2 separate regions of the Homo sapiens genome follow, and region 2 is linked to region 1. Evidence: promoter capture Hi-C in 16 types of primary human blood cells and fetal thymus (Javierre and others, 2016). All regions are on one chromosome and are shown on one strand. Each heading gives the region's core, a stretch centred on a gene start or on the middle of the fragment in contact. The rest is flanking DNA. Distances are from core to core; before and after follow the strand shown.

Region 1 (6,483 bases), core at 1,217-3,716:
TTCTTCAAGACCTGACCTTAGTCCACATTTCATCCCTTCTTAACATAACACTGATGTCACTTTTATGCCCCACCTTGTCTTTTTTTTTTTTTTTTTTTTTTTTTTTTTTTTTTTTTTTTTGAGACAGAGTCTTGCTCTGTTGCCAGGCTGGAGTAGAGTGGCGCAATCTGGGCTCACTGCAACCTCTGCCTCCCGGGTTCAAGTGATTCTCCTGCCTCAGCCTCCTGAGTAGCTGGGACTACAGGTGCGTGCCACCACGCCTGGCTCATTTTTTGTATTTTTAGTAGAGACAGGTTTTCACCATGTTGGCCAGAATGGTCTGGAACTCCACACCTCGTGATCCACCCGTTTTGGCCTCCCAAAGTGCTGGGATTACAGGCGTGAGCCACCGCACCTGGCCCACCTTGTCTTTTTTTAACCTTACCCCCTTTAATGTATGTAATCAGCTGTAGGTGATATCATCTGTAATCTTCTGAGGATATGTCAGGATATAAGTAAATATTTAACCACATGGTCTCTCCTGAGGAGATTCACACACTTTTAATTATTTTCTTTCTCTAGAGAACTAAATGTACCTGACCTCTCACAGAGCTTTCAGGTGGCTGCCTGCTAGACCGCTCTCTATGTCCCTGTCCCATAGATAAATCAAACTCAACATAACTAAAATGGAACTTAATCACTCCTACCAAAAGCAGGCTTCTGTAATACCCCCTAATTGCACTTTCACTCTCATCTCTTCCCTCAAATCCAGTCTGCATACAGTAGTGCCCAGAGGGATCTTTTAAAATGAAAATCACATCTATCACTTCGTGGCTTAAAACCCACCAGTACCTTCCATTTCTACTTAAAATCCAAACTCCTAAACTATGGCCTACAAAGGCCACACAGTCTGGTCCTATCTACCTCTCCCAATGTCATTTCTCAACTCTCTCCTACTTCTACAGGGCACTTTAGATACATTGGCATTTTAAATGTTCTTTAAACAAGCTCTTTCCCATCTTTGCAGTTCTTTCTGCCTGCCTTGTCTTTTCCTTGGCTAATCACAAGGCTGGTTCTTTATCATCATCAAGGTTTCAGCACAAATGTAACTCCTACAAGGGCCCAACGACCAACTAAGTTAAAGTTACTCCCAAACATCTCCCAATCATTTGTCATCCCTCTTCAAGTTTTTTCTTCATAGAATCTATCATCAAAATTGATTATTTACTTGCTTTTTATTTTCTCCCACTAGGATATAAAGTCAACCGAAGCAGGGGCCTTATCTGTCTTATATGTAACAGTATCTCTGGCATCTAAAACAGTATTAGGCAAATAGTAAATGGCACAATAAATATTTGAATGATGAAAAATAAGTAAACTGCTCCTCTTGAATTTGCAATTTGAATTAATGGTGTCTCATTGTTAGCAGCCAATATTCTAAAACTTGACTTTCCACTCCATGCCCCTGTAACAAGTCCTGTTGATTTTCTGTCTTTGGAACCTGACTCTCTCTACCTCTTTCTCTTTTTCAGGCCATAGACTCTCCAACTCCTGCAACTGTCTGGAATTTCTTCTCTCTCCAATCCATCTCTAGTATTGATGACATAGGTAACTTTCCACAAGTCACACCATACCAAGTGCTTTACATCACCTGTTTACGTACTTATCAAATGGCAATATAGATTACAGATATATATATAAACACACACGTATATATCGGGTATGTCTACTTGGTATTTTAGGGGAAAAAACGGGTGCTGATACATAGATGGAAGACATTTTCTGATTCCAATTTGGGAAAAATAGTCTATCTTTGGTCAGGTCTTTTTTTTAATAGCTTTACTGAGGCGGTTTTCTAATTTTAAATAATCAAGCATACACAACAAACAGTGTAATGACTAAGGTTCTTGGCATACCATAGGAAACCATAACCCGGCTCCAACCCACACTGCCATTCTCATCTCTACAGTCTCATTCCCGCTTGCGTTCTCATCACCCAGCACATTACGTCAGGGTATGTTTAACACTCAAAAATCCACAAGTCTGTTCTTGACATGAATGAGAATCTCATTTCTTTCAAAATGCTATAGTCTCTAGTTACAGAAGGAGCCTGATCAAAACAACCACCAAAAGTCTTCCACTCACAGCAGTTCGGAGCCGAAAAGTTGCGGAAATGAGGCCCAGCAACGGTCCCTGGCTTTGATTTGCCAAAATGCTCTGGAAGCCGCAGCGTCGGCGCCTGCCCACCACTGCTTCTTCAGGGGTTTCTTCAGTTTGACAAATTACCAGCGAGTGATATTTCTTGGTGAAAGAAAAAAATCACAACCCTAGAGGAATAAGGTGGCAGGGAGAGTGTTTTGGCCAAGATGCCCGCCACGAAACAGGAAAGCGGAGACAGCGCCAACTGTAACCACTAAGAGAAAGCGCAAACCGCACAAGACCAGTTCAAAACCAGCGCCCTCAGGGAGCCGCTTCAGAGCTCCGCAACAGGGAAGACAGGAAGTCCCGCCCCTCCACAACAGGAAGGGCCGGAAGTCCCGCCCCTCCACTCCGGAGGCTGCCCTCGCTGCGTTCCCTACGAAGGGCGGAGCAGGAATTGGTGTAGGAAGGGGACGGGTGTTTCCTTGTTCGGAATGGGGTTGGCTCCTCTTTGATTTTTTACTTCTGGTGACCCACGCAAAAGCAGTCCCGACCTGGTTGTATTAATAATAAAGGCTGTAAGGATCAGCCTTTTGAACGGTCCAGCCGAGAACTAACCACAGAGCGCGTTTTAGTGGAGTGGTACTTATTTTTAAATAAGGTAAAAAACGATTATACTTCAGTAAAGCTGTTTAGAAAAAAAAAAACTTGGCCAAAGATGGAGAACTCTTCCTAATTTGGTATCAGAAAATAGGTCGTCTATGTATCTGCACCTTTTTTCCTTATAAAGTGGCAAATAAATGTGTCTGCTATATTTATTGCCACTAAACAAGTGTTTATGGAACACTCACTGTGTGTTTAGGCATAGTGGGGATAAAGCAGGGAAGGTGGCCCAGTTCTTTGCGGGTGAGGATCAGAGCTAGAGATTAACTGGAAAGAAAGAATAAACAATCATTTATTACAGTTGTGAGTGTTTCTAAGATAAAATACAGAGGTTTGTGAGAGCATAGAGAGGCATACCTTGTTTTATTGTGCATTTTATTGTGCTTTGCAGATACTGAGTTTACTACAAATGGAAGGTTTGAGGCAACCTTGATGGAGCAAGTGTATGGGTGCCATGTTTTTCCAACATCATGTGCTCACTTTGTGTCTCTGACATATTTTGGTAATTCCCACAATATTTCAAACTTTTTCATTATTTTTGTATCTGTTAGAGTGATCTGTGTGATCACTGATCTTTGATGTCACTACTGTAATTGTTTTGGGGGACCACAGATCATGCTCATACATTATAAAATGGCGAACTGAATCTGTTACAGGTAGTTAGGCATGAGCAAGGCAGGAGAGGGCTCTCCCCTGCCACCCACCCACTAGAAATGTTGGGTGATGGTTCAGCAATTATCACATGGCCTCTCTAAAAATGAAAATTTGGCAGCGCCAGGGAAAGGCCATTTCCTGATGGCCCACACCTGTTAACATCAAAATGTTAATTGAATGCAGGCCCCAGAGAGAAGCAACTTCCTGGGCATGCCGGTTAAGAGACAAAAGTGATGAAGTATGATTTTTCTGATACACTCCACCGGAAAAAGGAAGAAAGCCTCAGATGGGCATGTGTATAAATCCATAAAATCACTGTGTGTGCTCACTTCCCAAGGGTAAAGAGGGCTCTGAGCATGCAGGGAGCCCATCCTAAGATCATGGTTAAATGCGGCACTTGACCTTCTCTCTCTCTCTCTCCTTTTCTTTTTCTTTTTTTTTTGAGACGGAGTCTCACTCTGTCGCCCAGGCTGCAGTGCAGTGGCGCGATTTCAGCTCACTGCAATCTCCGCCTCCCGGGTTCAAGCAATTCTCTGCCTCAGCCCCCTCCCCGAGTAGCTGGGATTACAGGCGCCCACCACCATACCCGGCTAATTTTTTTGTATTTTTAGTAGAGACAGGGTTTCACCATCTTGGCCAGGCTGGTCTTGAACTCCTGACCTCATGATCCACCTGCTTCAGCCTCCCAAAGTTCTGGGATTATAGGCGTGAGCCACTGCACCCGGCTGGCCTTCTCTCTTTAACCTTCACATGCCCACTTGGGTCTCTTCCATGCGTACCTTCCTTTCTTTCCTGTTCTAATGCCTGTTTAAATAAACCTCCATTCCTACTCTGGAACTTGCTTCAGTCTCTTTTCTGCTTTATGTCTGTCAGTCAAATTCTTTCTTCTCTGAGGAGGCCAGGACTGAAGTTGCTATGGACCTGCAAGGATAGGCTGCTGGTAACTTGGGGTAACTCAGATCTCTTCCACTAGTAACAAGTCGATTGATATATATTGTGTGTGTCTGGCTGCTGTATTCACTGGCCACTCTCATCTCTCACCCTCTCCTAGAGCCTTCCTATTCCTTGAGACACAACAATATCAAAATTAGGCAAAGTAATACCCCTACAGTGGCTTCTAAGTGTCCAAGTAAAAGAGGGTTGTATGTCTCTCACTTTAAATCATAACCTAGAAATGCATGATTAAGCCTGTAAGGAAGGCATGTTGAAAGCTAAGATAGGCTGAAAGCTAAGCCTCTTGTGTCAAACAGCCAAGTTGTGAATACAAAGAAAAAATTCTTAAAGGAAATTAAAAGTACTACTCCAGTGAACACATGAATAATAAGAAAAACCAAAACAGCCTTATTACTGACAGGGAGGAAGTTTGAATGGTCTGGATAGAAGATCAAACCAGCTACAACATTCCCTTAAACCAAAGCCTAATCCAGAACAAAGCCCTAACTCTCTTCGATTCTATGAAGGCTGAGAAAGGTGAGGGAGTTGAAGAAAAGTTTAAAGCTATCAGTAGTTGGTTCATGAAATTTAAGGAAAGAAGCCATCTCTGTAACATAAAAGGGCAAGGTGAAGCCACAAGTGCTGATGTAGAAGCTGCAGCAAGTTATCCAGAAGATCTAACGAAGACCATTGATGAAGGTGGCCAAATTAAACAGCGGATTTTTAATGTAGATGCAACAGCCTTCTAGTGGAAGATGTCATCCAGGACTTTCATAGCCAGAGAGAAATTAATGCCTGGTTTCAAAGCTTCAAAGGACAGGCTGATTGTCTTGTGAAGGTCTAATGCAGCTGGTGACTTGAAGTTGAAACCAATGCTCATTTCTCATTTCAAAATCCTAGGGCCCTTAAGAATTATGTTAAATCTACTCTGCCTGCACTCCAGAAACAACAGAGCCTGGATGACAGCACATCTGTTTAGAGTATGATTTACTGAATATTTTAAGCCCACTGTTGAAAATGACATTCAGAAAAATAGATTTCTTTTAAAATATTGCTACTTATTGACAATGCACCTGGTCACCTAAGAGCTCTGATGACGTACAAGGAGATTAATGTTGTTTTCATGTCTGCTAACGCAGCATCCATTCTACAGCCTAAGAGTCAAGAAGTAATTTTGATTTTCAGGTCTTATTATTTAAACAATACATTTCTTGAGGCTATAGCTGACATACAGAGTGATGTCTCTAATGGATCTGGGCAAAATCAATTGAAAACCTTTGGGAAAAGATTCACCATTCTAGATGCCATTGAGAACATTTGTGCTTCATGGGAGGAGGTCAAAATATCCAATTAAGAGAAGTTTGGAAGAAGTTTATTCCAATCCTCATGGTTGAGTTTGAGGGCTTCATGTCTTTAGTGAAAGAAGTGACTGCAGATGTGATGGAAACAGCAAGAGAACTGAATGAGAAGGGGAGCCTGAAGATGTGACTGAATTGCTGCAATCTCCTGATAAACCTTGAATGGATGAGTTGCTTCTTTTTTTTTTGAGATGGAGTCTTGCTCTGTCACCCAGGCTGGAGTGCAGTGGCACAATCTTGGCTCAGTGCAACCTCCGCTTGCTGGGTTCAAGCAATTCTTCTGCCTCAGCCTCCCGAGTAGCTGGGACTACAGGCATGCGCCACCATGCCCGGCTAATTTTTTGTATTTTTGGTAGAGACAGGGTTTCACCATGCTGTCCAGGCTGGTCTTGAACTCCTGACCTTGTGACCCGCCTGCCTCGGCCTCCCAAAGTGCTGGGATTACAGGCGTGAGCCACGGCGCCTGGCCTGCGTTGCTTCTTATGGATTAGCAAAGAAAGTGATTTCTTGAAATGGAAACTACTCCTAGTGAAGATGCTGAGTATTGTTGAAATGACAATAAAGGATTTTGAATATTACATAAACTTTGTTGATAAAACAGCAGCAGGGTTTAAGATGATTGACTCAAATTTTTAAAGAAGTTCTATTGTGGTTAAAATGCTATCACACAGCATTGCAAACTGGATAAATCTTTCTTGAAAGGAAGAGGCAAACCTCATTGTTGGCTTATTTTAAGAAATTGCCACAGCTGTCCCAG
Region 2 (6,647 bases), core at 537-3,036, 560 kb before region 1:
TAATGTGCTGTGAGAGAAAAAGCCGCAGCTAACGGTGCTATGGAATTACTAGAGAGCACAGAGGCTGGGTGCAGTCACCGGTCTGCACCGTAAAAAGGGGTTCAGGAAGTTCCTACGAGATATTAGCGTTTCTAGGACCCAGAAAGAGACAGCACAGAGAATTTACGGGCCCCGAAAACATGAAACGTCCTGTTGGGCGCTAAGAATTGTGCACCAATTGAGAAAACGCCCAGTGGGCGCTACTGGCAAAAGTGCTGACGCAAAACCGACAGCTCCGCATAAGAAGCGGAGTCGCCAGACAGAACCCGGGACCTGGCAGCAGCAAGTCTGAGACCGAGATCGGCTCCCCGCGTCCTGAGCATGCAAGTCAAGGAGCACGAAGCTGAGACATTTAAAATCAGTAGAAAAAAATACATAACATTTAAATAGAAATACAATTTAAAAATAATAGAAGCCTAAAATGCAAGTAGAAATGAAAGGCAAGCACATCGGTAATGTCGTTCTCAGAGCAAGACACAAAAAGACAATTAAAAAATAAGCAAAAATTGCTGACAACCATTCCTACAAAGAAGAAATTACAAATGTTTGTAATGCAATCCTACGATTAGGATATCCCTATCCGATCTAAACCAGTACATGTTACACCTAAGTCTAAATTTCCTACCAAATTAAATAAATAAATAAATAACAGTCATGGTTAAACCTGTTTAGCTTAGACTATAAAATGGTAGGAAAAAAAGTCGCTTTCGGCGGGACTTGCTATTGTCAACTGGGGCTTGGCAAAACTGAAAAATCCCGTTTGCCTGCATTTCCTGACTTCCAGGGGAGTTTAAAAAACACAGGCCTAGCTAAGGCGGGACCCGCTATTGTGAAACCAAACTTAGTATAAGAGCTCCCAGGCCCTGCTAAACTGGTCATCGCTAAGCAAAAAAAAAAAAAAAAACCGCATTCGCTGGTACCCAGATTTCTACAGGAGTTAAACGTCTCCTGAGCAGCTAAAGCAGAGCTTACTAGTAAGAAACTTGCAATGACTAAGGAACTTGAGGCAGGGCTAACCCGGGGTTGTTAGGATTAGAATTCCGAGGCTACAGGAAACCCGGAATTGCTGAGATGTGAGTCACAGGGTGACTCAGCCTCGTTACGATGAAACAGTAACTTCCTACTACCTAGAAATCGCAGCCAGGGCCAGACCGGTGTTTGTCCTAAGTCGGAACTTGATTGGGCTGAGAAATCACATTGTGACTATTCCACGACTTGAACAAGGGGTAGAAATCGCAGGCACCGCGAAATAGAAACTTCCTAGGACCAAGAAGCCAACGACGCCCGAAACCGTGGGGTCCTGTCACAGAAACCCCAGCAGCGCAGCCACCGGACTGGGTTCTGGAGGCCGAGCCGCAGTCCGTGCGGCGGCGCTGGGAAGAGAAGGCGCCCCGGCAGCTCCCCTGCCACCGGCCCCGAGGAGCGGCTGGCTCCCCCAGCCCAGCGCCGCCGCCGCCCGGTAACTCCAGGCGCAACTGGGCGCAACTGGGGCAGCTGCGACACCGAATCCCTCACATCTGCAACCTGGGTGCTGCGGCCACTGAGAAAATGGAGGCGCAGACCAACGAGCGGTGCCGCGACCGAGAGACCTCGGCTGGCGAAATGGTGGTGCCGGGAGCCTGCGAGTGACGCCAGCCGGCGGGGTTGTCAAGGACAACATTCGTTTTGACGCAGCCAATGGCGCCGTCACCAAGAAACCATCGACTCTGAGAAAAAAGAGAGGTTCGGCCACCGAGAAACTCCGTACGACAAGTGCTGTGGCAGAAAAACCGCCTACTCCGCGCCACAGGCAAAACAGCCAATGGAAACCCCAGGTGCTGCGACCGTGACACCGGCACTAGAGGGTCTCGGATGGAGAAAGCGGCGCACGGAGACCAGGAAACTATGTGTAGCACAACTAGCAGAAAACCGTCTGGTCGGCCATCCGGGAGAAAGCGCGGATCAGAAACAAGCGACTTCGATGCAGGGAACCGCGCAGCCACTGAAGAAAGTGACCCACGTGGCAGTGGTGCCAGCGAAACACTGCAGTTTGGACGGCAGCTGTGGGGATGCCACAGAGAAACATGCACTGCCACTGAAGTACATCCAGCTCCGCGGAGCTAGTGTTCATATGATCAAGAAACCGCCAGTTGGGCTCTGCTAGAAACTTTTAGTCCTCCCTTAACGGCTATCCTACCCACAACAGACAATGCCTTTACCCAGCACCTAGCGGTGCTGAGACCCGCCTGGGCCAGCACAGAGCGCAGAGCAGTACGGGTACGGAGAAACGCCGGACTCAGTGAAACCAGCCTTGCCTCCAGCGGATTCCCCGGCTTCGCCGGACGCCACAGGCAGAGTGCCGCGGGGAAACCTCTGGCTCCCTAAACCGATTAGATTGTGGGAGTGGGGGGGACACTCACAAGTTGTGTGGAAGGGAACCAGCGGCAATGGGACCCGGCGAGCACTTGCCCGCAGCAAATGCCTGCGCTGCTGCAAAAAAAACAACTTTTGGCGCAAAGAATGTTGCGGCCAGAGAGCATCCGCTGTCGCTGACAAAGGAGTAGCAATGGCAATGAGAAACCGCCGGCGCCACGGCCGACCGCGGCGGCTCACGCCTATGATCCTTGCAGTTTGGGAGGCCGAGGTGGGCGCATTACTTGAGATCAGGAGACTAGCCTGGCCAACAAGGTGAAACCCCATCTCTACTAAAATACAAAAGATTAGCCGGTTGTGGTGGCAGGCACCTGTAATCCCAGCTACTCCGGAGGCTGAGGCAGAAGAATCGATTGAACTCAGGAGGCAGAGGTTGCAGTGAGCCAAGATCGCGCCACTGCACTCCAGCCTGGGAGACAGAGTGAGCTCCGTCTCAAAAAAAAGAAAGAAACCGCTGGCGCCGGGAAAGGAGCCGTGCAGCGATGGACCCATGGTGCGCTCCGTGCTACCAAAGTGCTGTGGCCTCTACCCACTCTCGATTCCCAAGGCTGTTTTTCGGGCTTAGGGAAGTCTGTTATATTTTTATTTCTGCTTCTTTCTTTTCTTTCTTTTATTTCTTTCTTTCTTTTTCTTTCTTTCATTCTTTCTTTTTCTTTTTCTTTCTTCTTTCCTTTCTTTCTCTCTTTCCTTTTTTTCTTTTTCTCTTTATTTCTTTTTTCTTTATTTTTTTTTTTAACAGTATCTTGCTCTGTTGCCCAGGCTGGTGCAGTGGCGTGATCACTGCTCAGTGCAGCCTCGCCTTCTTGGGCTCCAGCTATCCTCCCGCCTCAGCCTGTGGAGCAGCTGGGACCACAGGTGCGCGACACCACACCCGACTAATTTTTTGTAGTTTTTGTAGGGTCTCGTTTTGTTGCCTAGGCTGTTCTCGAACTCCTGAGCTCAAGCAGTCCGTCCGCCTGGGCGGACTAATATCACAAAGCGCTAGAATCACAGGCATGAGCCACCGTGCTGGGAGGGAAGTCTGTATTGTTGCTGCGTTCAACCCAGTGCATAGTGCATGAGAAGAGGAGGCAGTTTAGGGGCCCAGAACCAAGCGGATGGGGCTGGTTGCAGGAACAAAGTAAAAACCATTCTGATTGCCAACAGCTGCCTACGCAGGAAACACCCTTCCAACCTCCGTGGCGGGGCTCTCCCAGGCCACCCCTCGGTCCCAGAGTCTCCTCCCCGTCCAGAGCTCTCAGGATCCTACAGAAGGGGCGGACAACTCTTCCCTTCCAAACTGGAAAGTCGGCCTAGGTTTCCGAGGATAATGAAAGGCACAGCGTTTTTTGACCTCGACTTCAGGCCTGACCCCCCACTCTCTCGGTCCCGTACCTCTTCTGCGGGATGTAACTCTGTGGGAACCGCTCCTTTATTCTGATGATTAACTGTCTGATATCCTTGATATTTGGGGATAGTAGATGAAAGAGAGCAGGAGAGAAAAATGGACGGCAAGACTCCAGCTCAGAAGGTGGGAATGATGGCAAAAGTCCGCTACCTCTCCAAGCCCAATAAACATCTCAAACTGCTCTACACTTTTCTGTACCCTTGATCTGTGAAATGGATCACTGACGTTTTCTGTCTTTCGGGAAATGCAAAGCAGGCGAATTTTCAAGCGCTTGAATTCCCTCTTTTTCCTACTTTTCAGTCAGAGTGGAGCTAAAAACTCCTTCCCCATAGGAAATATGGAACTGCCTCTGCCCGGAAGAAAAACGTCCCTTTTCCCTAAGCTTTCACATTTCCCGAAAAATCTACACATCCGCATGAAATCCTCACAAGAGACCTACAGACCCTACCGGGAGCGTTCCTGTCACTACAAAAAATTTAAAAATTAGCCGGATGCGGTCGCGGGTGCCTGTAGTCCCAGGTACCAGGGAGGCTGAGGTGGGAGGATCTCTTGAGCCCAGGAGGTCCAGGATGCAGTTAACGATGATCCTAAGACCACGAGGCAATTGGAGGATCCTCAAATACCAGGGAGAAACTAGCTAGCAGACATAGTATGGTGGGAGGGGAAGATCAAGGCAAATGCCTTGGGAGTGGGTGAGAATTGCGACTTCATATTGGATCTCCTGACCTGTGAAGGCCCTTTTCTAGGCTCCTCTGGACCTGTCCTCTGCCCAGGTTCAACCAGAAAAGGATGGAGTTTGTTGCATGGTATCATCAGGGTGAGGTTGGGAGATGATGCGGGAACGCTCATCCCTGGTCTTAGGAACGGGAGAACAAAGGAAAAATGGCATCATTTCCACCTAAAAAGTTACAAGCACTTCACCAGAAGGAACAGCCCAGGCGGAGCCTTTGTAAAAGAAAAGCCCCACCCACTGCTTCGCACTCCTCATTTCCACCCAGCAGAGCATTTTAGTGACAAAGCTGAGCGGGAGCCAGAGTTCACTCCTGTAATCCCAGCACTTTGGGAGGCCCAGGCGGGAGGATCACTTTAACCCACGCGTTCAGGACCATCCGAAGCACATAGCAAGACCGTGCCACTACAAAAAATTTAAAAAATTAGCGGGATGCAGTCGCGGGTGCCTGTAGTCCCAGCTACCAAGGAGGCTGACGTGGGAGGATCTCTTGAGCCCAGGAGGTCCAGGCTGCAGTGAACGATGATCCTTCACGGCACCACTGCACTCCAGCCTGGGTGACAGACTGAGACTTTGTCTCAAAAAATAAAATGAAATAAAAATACAGCCGAGATTAGGAACTCTTTAAGAAGGGGTCACCTGAGACATTATTAGTATACCATTAACAGGAGAAAATGCTGCAAATTAAAGTATCATAATGGTAGGAGGCTACCCATTTAAAAATATATACCTGTTTCAGAGACACTAAAGTGAGAAAAAATTTACTCTAGAATTGATTAAATTCAGATATCCACTGCTTTATTTTAAACCTTAAGTGCCATTTTAGTTTATTTACCTCTTAGAAATAGCATGGAGATTGGAGTTGTAATTTTTTAATATTTATTTATTTATTTATTTAGAGACAGAGTCTGGCTCTGTTGCCCAGGCTGGAGTGCAGTGGTGTGATCTCAGCTCACTGCAGCCTCTGCCTCCCGGGTTCAAGCTATTCTGAGGCCTCATATCTGGGAACCTGCCCCAATAGTCACATAGGTTCTTTTCTATTTTCCCTAAGCATCGGCCGGTTTGAGAAATAAAGGGACAGAGTACAAAAGAGAGAAATTCTAAAGCTGGGTGTCTAGGGGAGACCTCACATGTCAGTAGGTTCTGTGATGCCCCACAAGCTGTAAAACCAGCAAGTTTTTATTAGGGACTTTCGAAAGGGGAGGGAGTGTACGAATAGGGTGTGGGTCACAAAGATCACATACTTCACAAGGTAATAGAATATCACAAGGCAAATGGAGGCAGGGCGAGATCACAGGACCACAGGACCGGGGTGAAATTCAAATTGCTAATGAAGTTTTGGGCACCATTGTCATTGATAACATCTTATCAGGAGACAGGGTTTTGAGAGCAACTGGTCTGACCAAAATTTATTAGGCGGGAATTTCCCCTTCCTGATAAGCCTGGGAGCACTATGGGAGACTGGGGTTTATTTCATCCCTACAGTCTCGACCATAGAAGACGGCCACACCCAAGGGGGGCATCTATAGACCCACCCTCAGGTGCGTATTCTCTTTCCCAGGGATGTTCCTTGCTGAGAAAAAGAATTCAGCAATATTTCTTCCATTTGCTTTTGAAAGAAGAGAAATATGGCTCTGTTCCGCCTGGCTTTTTCCCAGCGGTCAGAGTTTAAGGTTATCTCTCTTGTTTCCTAAACATTGCTGTTATACTGTTCTTTTTTCAAGGTGCCCAGATTTCATACTGTTTAAACACACATGCTCTACAATTTGTGGAGTTAATGCAATTATCACAGGGTCCTGAGGCGACATACATTCTCCTCGGCTTACGAGATGACAGGATTAAGAGATTAAAGTAAAGACAGGCATAGGAAATCACAAGGGCATTGATTGGAGAAGAGATAAGTGTCCTTGAAATCTTCACAATTTATGTTTAGAGATTGCAGTAAAGATAGGCATAAGAAATTATAAAAGTATTAATTTGGGGAACTAATAAACGTCCATGAAATCTTCACAATCCACGTTCTTCTGCCATGGCTTCGGCCGGTCCCTCCTTTTGGGGTCCCTGACTTCCCGCTACAGC

Evidence for each region. Contacts are between HindIII fragments. The CHiCAGO score rates a contact against its expected background, and 5 or more counts as called.
Region 2: a contact is called between a fragment that was not itself captured here and the fragment with the promoter of C5orf34 in region 1, in 1 of 17 cell types (fetal thymus). The highest score is 5.7, in fetal thymus.

What each region holds. Positions count from the first base shown.
Region 1 is chr5:43,512,682-43,519,164 of GRCh38, forward strand. C5orf34 (chromosome 5 open reading frame 34) reads right to left here and starts at 2,467. Exons shown (of 13, transcript NM_198566.4): 1 at 2,125-2,467. It overlaps LOC124900190 (a long non-coding RNA gene), which reads left to right. Exons shown (of 3, transcript XR_007058764.1): 2 at 1,512-6,483. RefSeq lists an enhancer at 2,075-2,234. The HindIII fragment of the contact is 8,167 bases long and covers 1-5,173 here.
Region 2 is chr5:42,949,702-42,956,348 of GRCh38, forward strand. It overlaps LOC105374745 (a long non-coding RNA gene), which reads left to right and starts at 1,188. Exons shown (of 3, transcript XR_925964.3): 1 at 1,188-6,647. RefSeq lists enhancers at 722-1,921, 966-1,260, 1,022-1,081, 1,058-1,580, 1,058-1,202 and 2 more, a cis regulatory region at 1,125-1,135 and a silencer at 1,372-1,471. The HindIII fragment of the contact is 4,864 bases long and covers 1-4,218 here.